Regions from separate parts of the Homo sapiens genome. Here region 2 is linked to region 1. Evidence: promoter capture Hi-C in human tissues and cell types (Jung and others, 2019). All regions are on one chromosome and are shown on one strand. The core of a region is centred on a gene start or on the middle of the fragment in contact, and the rest is flanking DNA. Distances in the headings are between cores, read along the strand shown.

Region 1 (3,817 bases), core at 511-3,010:
CAGCAAACAGGGATGTAAATATTGCAACATTTTCTGTAGAAAACAATTTTTTTCTGTGTGTTCTTTTTTAGAACACATAGATATGCATAAAAATTGACGAGATAGGCCGGGCGCAGTGGCTCACGCCTGTAATCCCAGCACTTTGGAAGGCCGAGGTGGGCGGATCACCTGAGGCCAGGAGTTCGAGATCGGCCTGGCCAACATGGTGAAACTTTGTCTCTACTAAAAACACAAAAAATTAGCCGGGTGTGCTGGTGGGCGCCTGTAGTCCCAGCTACTCAGGAGACTGAGGCAGGAAAATCGCTTGAACCTGGGAGGTGGAGGTTGCAGTGAGCCAGCCGAGATGGCACCACTGCACTCCAGCCTGGTCAATAAGAGCAAAACTCCGTGTCAAAAAAAAAAAAAAATTGACAAAATAAATCTCAACAAATACTACAATTTAAGCTGGAAATCAATAATAAAAAGATAATTTAAAAATGAAACAAAATAGGGAAACGATCCCAATACTTCTCCCCCAAATGAGTGAGTCATAACCAGGAAAAACCTGTCATCTCAGTATAGAAAGAACATTATTAGGCGGTGTATTTTGATGAATGATAGTTACGTGGTGTGGGAGTTATACCTGCAAATAGCATGAGTTGGTCGTGAAGGGTTTAAGTGGGGAAAGACTTTTTGGAGGAGCCTGCATTCTCCACTATGAACCCTGTCACAACTTAAGTCACCTTCCTCTCTGATCCTCAGAAGCTGGTGGGATGCCTTGTGTAATTTCTGACCAGAAGGTTTCCGTCAACTGTTCTTCAACTATTCAAAATGCCATGCCCAAGACTGGTTCTTAGTACTCCAGGAGCTCACGAACGATTTCACCTTTATTTATTTTTTATTTTTTTTGAGACGGAGTTTCGCTCTTGTCGCCCAGGCTAGAATGCAATGGCAGTCTCGGCTCACCGCAACTTCCGCCTCCCGGGTTCAAACGATTCTCCTGCCTCAGCCTCCCGAGTGGCTGGGATCACAGGCCATGACGCCCGGCTAATTTTGTATTTTTAGTAGTGACGATGTTTCTCCATGTTGGTCAGGCTGGTCTCGAACTCCTCACCTCAGTTGATCCGCCCGCCTCGGCCTCCCAAAGTGCTGGGATTACAGGCATGAGCCACCGCGCCCGGCCGATTTTTTTTAAAAAAAGGAACGCTTAGCCGGGTGCAGTGGCTCAGGTCTGTAATCGCAGCACTTTGGGAGGCCGAGGCGGGCGGATCACTAGGTCAAGAGATCAAAACCATCCTGGCCAACATGGTGAAACCCTGTCTCTACTAAAAATACAAAAAATTAGCAGGGCGTGGTGGCGGGCGCCTGTAGTCCCAGCTACTCGGGAAACTAAAGCAGGAGAATCGCTTGAACCCGGGGGGGGGAGCTTGCAGTGAGTGGAGATCGCGCCACTGTACTCCAGCCAGGCGACAGAACGAGGCTCCGTCTCAAAAAAAAAGGAACTCTTAAAACGAGTAACTCCGTAACCTAACTTAGAGGACACGGGTTCCATTTTTCCCCGTAGCAGTCTCCTATGGAGAAAGTGCTTGGCTTCCCACAGACTTTAAAACCTGCCAAAGTTCCATGCTCGGAATCTGCCCCCGTTTCGAGATACTTGGGCCTCCGCGAGTTCTAAAACTCCGGGATGTCCCGATGCAATAGGGGGCCGAAAACCCGCCCCGTGAGGGGGCGGGACCGGAGGTGAACGCGCAGCAAAACCGGGCGCCTTCCACGACCCTCTAGCCGGAAGCCACGCCTGCCCACTAGCCCGACGCCCGCCTGGCGGGAACATGGGCTCGCCCCTCACCAGCGATCTGCAGTCAGTTGGTAGCGCCTGCACGTCGCGCGCGGTGTTCGATTGTCGCTGCCTGGGGAGGAGGAGCCGGAGCCGCCGCCGCCGCCGCCGCCGCCGCGGGCTTCGTTCGTAAGGAAGGGGGCCTAGGCCCGGGCCTGCGGTGGTGGGGGTTGCTGCGCGCCGGGGGTCGCTCCTGCTGTGTCTTCCGCTCCAGCTTCGCCCACTTCCCCTTGCCAGCGGGGTGGGCGCGGAGAAGACCTGCCGGAGCCATGGAGGACGAAGTGGTCCGCTTTGCCAAGAAGATGGACAAGATGGTGCAGAAGAAGAACGCGGTGAGCGCGGCGAGCGGCGCGGGCCGGGAGGGAGGCCGGGCCGCGGTCCGGCCCGAGGGGGCCGCCCCCTCCCTCCTTCTCCCTCCCCTCCCCCTGCAGCCTCCCGTCTGGGAGCCGGGCCCGCCGCGCCCGCGTCCCCGGGGAGGGTGTCCGGGCCCGGGGCGTCGGGTCCCGCGGCAACCTGCGTTAGGACCCGCTCGCTCTTGTATTTCCAGTCCCTGCTCGCTGGTGCCGTGTAATAAACCTAATCGATTTAGGGATTAGGGCACGCTCTCCGTTGACTTTAAACTTTCGTGCTAGTAAAACCTTGGCAATTTAGCTTAGGAATTGAAGCGTAGAAAGTCCTCAGAACTTGAAAGAATGGAGTCTTCCGTGATCCGTGGCCAACATCTAGAAAGAGCATCAAATAGAGGCTTGTGATCGGTATTAGACATCGGGCTGGTAAAATGTAAAACTTCTGTGTCTTATTTTTGAAGAGGGCTGAACGTCCGCCTGGTTATCTCAACTGTGCTACATGTTTGCTTAGCGATTAAAAAGGTAAAGTGTGCCAGTTTCTTGGCGAGTTGCTAAACGTTTTATAAAAAGCGGGTTTTGTCCTGTCGTAATGTACAGAAGAGTTAGGACTACAGCACGCACACTCACCGGAATGCTGGTAGAGGGATTTGGACAAATTATATTGTTGGGTATTTTCTAAGTGGTTTACAGTTAATACTGGTGGCATTTTTTTTGTTATTGATGAATATTCATGTAAGCATATGCTTTTGTGGTTTGTAAGAAATCCTCATACGACCAGTTTCTACAGCTTGCCCATTTGTGTGGCACTTTCAGTCCCTTGCTTCAGACTCATCTGTTCTTAGCTAAACATATTTTTTCGAGACGGAGTTTAACTCTTGTTGCACAAGCTGGAGTGCAATGGCTTGATCTCGGCTCACTGCAACCTCCGCCTCTCGGGTTCAAGTGATTCTCCTGCCTCAGCCTCCCGAGTAGCTGGGATTACAGACGTGCGCCACCACGCCTGGCTATTTTTTTGTATTTTTAGTAGAAACGGGGTTTCACCATCTTAACCAGGCTGGTCTCGAACTCCTGACCTCAGGTGATCCGCCCACCTCAGCCTCCCAAAGTGCTGGGATTACAGGCGTGAGGCCACTGCGCCTGGCCTCTCAGGTAAACTTATATAATTGTCCTCACCTAAATTTGTTTAACCACGTTCGGCACATTTTCATCATCAGTGTACCTGAAATAATTTTTCTTCCATCTATGAAGTAAATTCCATGTCAAACTAATGTGAAGAGAAAAGGGATGCTCTGATTTGTACAGCACTTTGGAGTTAAAAAGCATCTGCTCAAAATTCTTTTGTGACTCACACAGAGCTGTGAGTACATAAAGGGTATCCATTTTACAGATTAAGACACTGAGAGAGATTAAGTACTACTACTTAAATTAAGTACTGTGTAGTTTGGAATAAGCCAGGACCCAGGTTTTCTTCTGGACAGCATGCTTTCCACATGACAGCTAGATCAGGAATTAGTGTTAACACTAAATACGTAAGACTTCAAACATCCTCTGTTCCCCTTTTTCCTTTAACAGGTGCATTGCCTCGTATTTCATTTCATACCCTGTTAATCTGTATTTGCAAATTTTGGCCTTTTAAAGTATTTCCTGTTTATTTTCT
Region 2 (3,817 bases), core at 765-3,264, 2.0 Mb before region 1:
GTCATGAGAGATCCTCCCTCATGAATTGGATTAAGGCCCTTATAAAATAGGCTTCACAGAGAGTTTGACCCTTTTTGTGCCCTTCCACCTTCTTCCATGTGAGGACACAGAAAGAAGTACCTCGCCAGGCACTGTATCTACTGGCGCCTTGATCTTGGACTTCCCAGCCTCCAGAGCTTAGAGTTTGAGAAGCAGAGCACTAGATCATAGGCTTGAAAGCTTAAGCTATTTTAGGATTGCAACAAAATCTTAGTCTCAACACGTTGCCTTTGAGCAACCTCACAGGTAGACTGTTACCATCATAATGGTTGGGGAGGAAGTCCAGATGCAACTCAGCTTAACAAAAGAAGGAGTAAGATGTGCAGGGCCAGCATAAGGAGCCCAGGCAGGGAGGAGGAGGCTCCATATGGAGCTGGGGTGAGGGAAAGGGCAGGTGAGGAAGGTTCTCCAAACACCTTGGAAGAATTCCTAGCCCATCAACTGTTTGGAACACATGGCTTGAGCTTGTTTTTCCTGCAACTTAGGTCAGGACCCTGTGGGCCTCATGGCTTGGAGGCAGGGGATACAGGGTCAGGCCTCAGCTCCTCTCCCTCTCTATCACAGCTCTGGGCCCAGAGACATTACTCACAGAGCTTGGGAAACCGATAAAATCTTTTGGTTCTAAACCAAATGAGGAGATTCTCTTCATCTTAGGCCATGTGATTCTCTTCATTATAATGTCAGGCCCAGGGGTGAACAAAGACAAGAAAACCCCAACTTTCTAAACCACCTGCCGACACCAAAGAACTAATTTAAACTGTCTCTTTCACCCAGTGCTGATGTCTAACTCTGTCTCAGAAAGTTGATGTGTGAAGCTACTGGAAATCTGAAATAAAAAGCATCCCTATTACCAAAAATGAGACTAATCACGTAAAGAGACGATGTCAGTGAGGTTTCCATACTCTTGACTTAAGCTGAGATGTGCTGATGCTTCTTGTGCTCTTTGATTCAAATAGCATGGCCAATGCACATTTTTTAGTTTCTTTTTTTGCCTTCAGTGAAAACATATGATGGTATTTTCTACCTGTGCTGTTTCTGTGTTTTTCATTTTCGTTTTTAAAAAGCGGTTTACTGAGCACAGGGACAAGGGAGCATGTGGGGGTGCACCATGACCAAAACTCTGAGTGTGGAGCAAGGTGATTGTTTCCTGAAAACGCCTGTGCCTGAAGCTGATGACAAAGAAGACCATGCTGAGCCCACTGCTGTCCTGGGAGGAGGCACAGAACTACTGGGTCAGAGAGCAAATCCTGGGGGTGGGGGGTTCTGGTGAAACTCTTGGCATCTTGTACACAATGAAAAGTCTAGGTGCACAGAACATATTAATAATAATGCTTCCTGAGTTAATGGGCAGGCTTATCTTGTTTGGCTGGATAGATAGACTTCCAGTCATCTAGAGTGGCCTTTGTAACATACAATGAGAAGAAAAGGAGTTAGTCACCAAGTGTCTGCCTCTTCCTCCACTGCCAGTCAGCTGAACAGATGCCTTCCATAAGTCAGGGCTTTGAGGCAGCTAGAGGCACAAGTGGACCAGAGAAAGAGAGAAGTAAGGTCTTACCCAACGTTCTGACCCCAAAGGGGCAGGACTTTCTCCCCCACTGCTGGTGTGAAACAGGAAGTGTCAACCCTTCAACAAAGATACCCTTGGGGCCACAGCAGGTGAGAAAAGGTGCCACTTCCTCCAGGTGGAGGCAACCCAGCTGTCAGGGCTGGTGGCAGAGTGGGATCAGGGATAGACCTCAGACCCCGAGCAGCATCTCAGAGGCCACTATGGACACAGCTGCTTAAGTTGACGTGGTAGTACTGCCGGCGTGTCTCTATTTGTTGGTATATTCACATCTCTAGTATGATTTCACACACACAGACACCCTTAAATAGGCACACACTTAAGCTGGGCAGAGTGGGGACAGAATACAAAATTTAGAGTCCTATTTACTTTGCAAATAACTTTTTCCCCAGGGTATGAGGTTTAAAACATGTAAAACAAAATTAAAATTCTAAGCCTCTTAACCAACTGGGTAGACCCTCCCCTTGGCCCAGGGGATTTCAAAGAAACCTGAAAAACTAGTTCAGGCCATGATGAGAAGGGGGAATTGGACATGACTCATTATGCCCTTCTCCCTTTTGGAGTGTAGACACCAATGACCAGCATTCACATTAAAATAGAGATCCTGAGACTGATAAACAGACTCTTTGCAGCAATAAGATACCAAATTCCAACCAGACTTTAGTATAACATCACATGACAGATAACAGGTTCTAAAGAAGATCAAAGTATTTTACCTTAAAATATATTTCTCTGACAAATTTTGAAACGGCCCTGCAAAGCCATCTCTTATGGGGGAAATTTATATTCTATAGAGAATCCCATTCCCTTTCCAAGTCTTTTCCTGATCCAGGAGAGATTTAACTGACACCTTTTAAGGTCCCATAAGAGACATTCACATCTGTTCTCTCTGAGGCCTGCTACCTGAAGTCTTCATCTACATGATAAGAACCTTTGCTTCTACAACCACCACTTCCTATACCTTAACTCAAGCTTACTACAACTCTTCAGGCAAAGCTTAACTCCTTCAACCAATGGCCAATCAGGACTTTTTTTTTTTTTTTTTTTTTTTTGGAGGCAGAGTCTCACTCTATCACCCAGGCTGGAGTGCAGTGGCACAGTCTCAGCTCACTGCAACCTCCACCTCCTGGGTTCAAGCGATTCTCCTGCCTCAGTCTCCTGAGTAGCTGGGACTACAGGTGTCCGCCACCATGCCTGGCTAATTTTTATATTTTTAGTAGAGACAGTGTTTTGCCATGTTGGCCAGGCTGGTCTCAAACTCCTGACCTCAGGTGATCCACCCACTTCGGCCTCCTAAAGTACTGGGATTACAGGCATGAGTCACTGTGCCTGGCCAATCAGGAAATTTTTGAATCCACTTATGGCCTGGAAGCCTCCCCTCCCAGCTTCAAGACATCCCGCCTTCCTGGGTTGAACCAATGTACACCTTCTGTGTACTGATTTATGTCTTTGCCTATAACTTCTGTCTCCCTAAAATGTGTAAGATCAAGCTGTATCCCAGCCACCTTGGACACATGTTCCCAGGATCTCTGGTGGCTGTGTCATGAGCCATGGTCCTCAACCTCGGCAAAATAAACCTCTAAATTGATGGAGACCTGTCTCAGATGGTTTTTGGTTTGGTTAAATGAGACCAAAGTTTTAGAAACATTTGAGTGGAATGCACTCATTTAAATTCCCTCTCCTCTAACAATGTTAAAGTAGAAAGTCCAAGTTGCTATTTCCTGAATGGGGAGTGTCCATGTGAGTAGGCTCAGCAAGCCCTATCCAAATGCACCTGCCTGGACCTTCTCGAGGAAAGGCAACCGGGCTCTCCCTCATGAGGCACTGCGGTTTTGTGTCATCAAACACACCCACTGAGAAGTGGGTTGCCTATGACCACACCAGAGATGGGAAATTCCTAACCACCAAGGCCCTAGGTAATATATCAGATGGACTTCTTTTATGCGGGTTTGATAGAGAGCACAATCTCAATTATGTTTTACAAATCCAAGCAGAGCTCAAATAATGCCCCTGCTTAGTAGCTTCCTAGTGATGACCATCCAGGTCATTCATCTTTCCCGCTTTTCTCAAAGGCCCAGTGAGAAGTCTGTCAACCCCAGCATCCCACACGGTGAAACCGGCTTCCAGCAAGCTCTCTCCCACCCGAGGCGCAGGCTCTGAGCCATCACCAGCCTTGCTGGGCATGTGCCCTGTGGACTGTTTGCTCAGCACACA

The links. The method cuts DNA at HindIII sites, captures the fragments that hold promoters and counts their contacts. A contact is called where the count stands out against the background at its distance.
Region 2: a fragment that was not itself captured here is called in contact with the fragment with the promoter of TCEA1 in region 1 in 1 of the 25 tissues and cell types used here (aorta).

The regions. Positions count from the first base shown.
Region 1 is chr8:54,020,391-54,024,207 of GRCh38, reverse strand. It overlaps TCEA1 (transcription elongation factor A1), which reads left to right and starts at 1,760. Exons shown (of 10, transcript NM_006756.4): 1 at 1,760-2,145. The coding sequence starts at 2,083. The region is part of intron 12 of LYPLA1-TCEA1 (LYPLA1-TCEA1 readthrough); the gene reads left to right. LOC133039971 (Uncharacterized LOC133039971) reads right to left here and starts at 2,175. Exons shown (of 3, transcript NR_189620.1): 1 at 1,826-2,175. RefSeq lists silencers at 707-1,014, 2,142-2,311 and enhancers at 436-1,227, 1,822-1,971, 1,228-2,021. The HindIII fragment of the contact is 39,045 bases long and covers 1-3,817 here.
Region 2 is chr8:55,989,078-55,992,894 of GRCh38, reverse strand. All of the region lies in intron 10 of LYN (LYN proto-oncogene, Src family tyrosine kinase), which reads right to left. Among named protein-coding and RNA genes, the nearest start is that of SNORD54, 83 kb to the left of the region's middle. RefSeq lists enhancers at 425-584, 1,075-1,174, 1,485-1,544, 2,015-2,104. The HindIII fragment of the contact is 4,763 bases long and covers 1-3,817 here.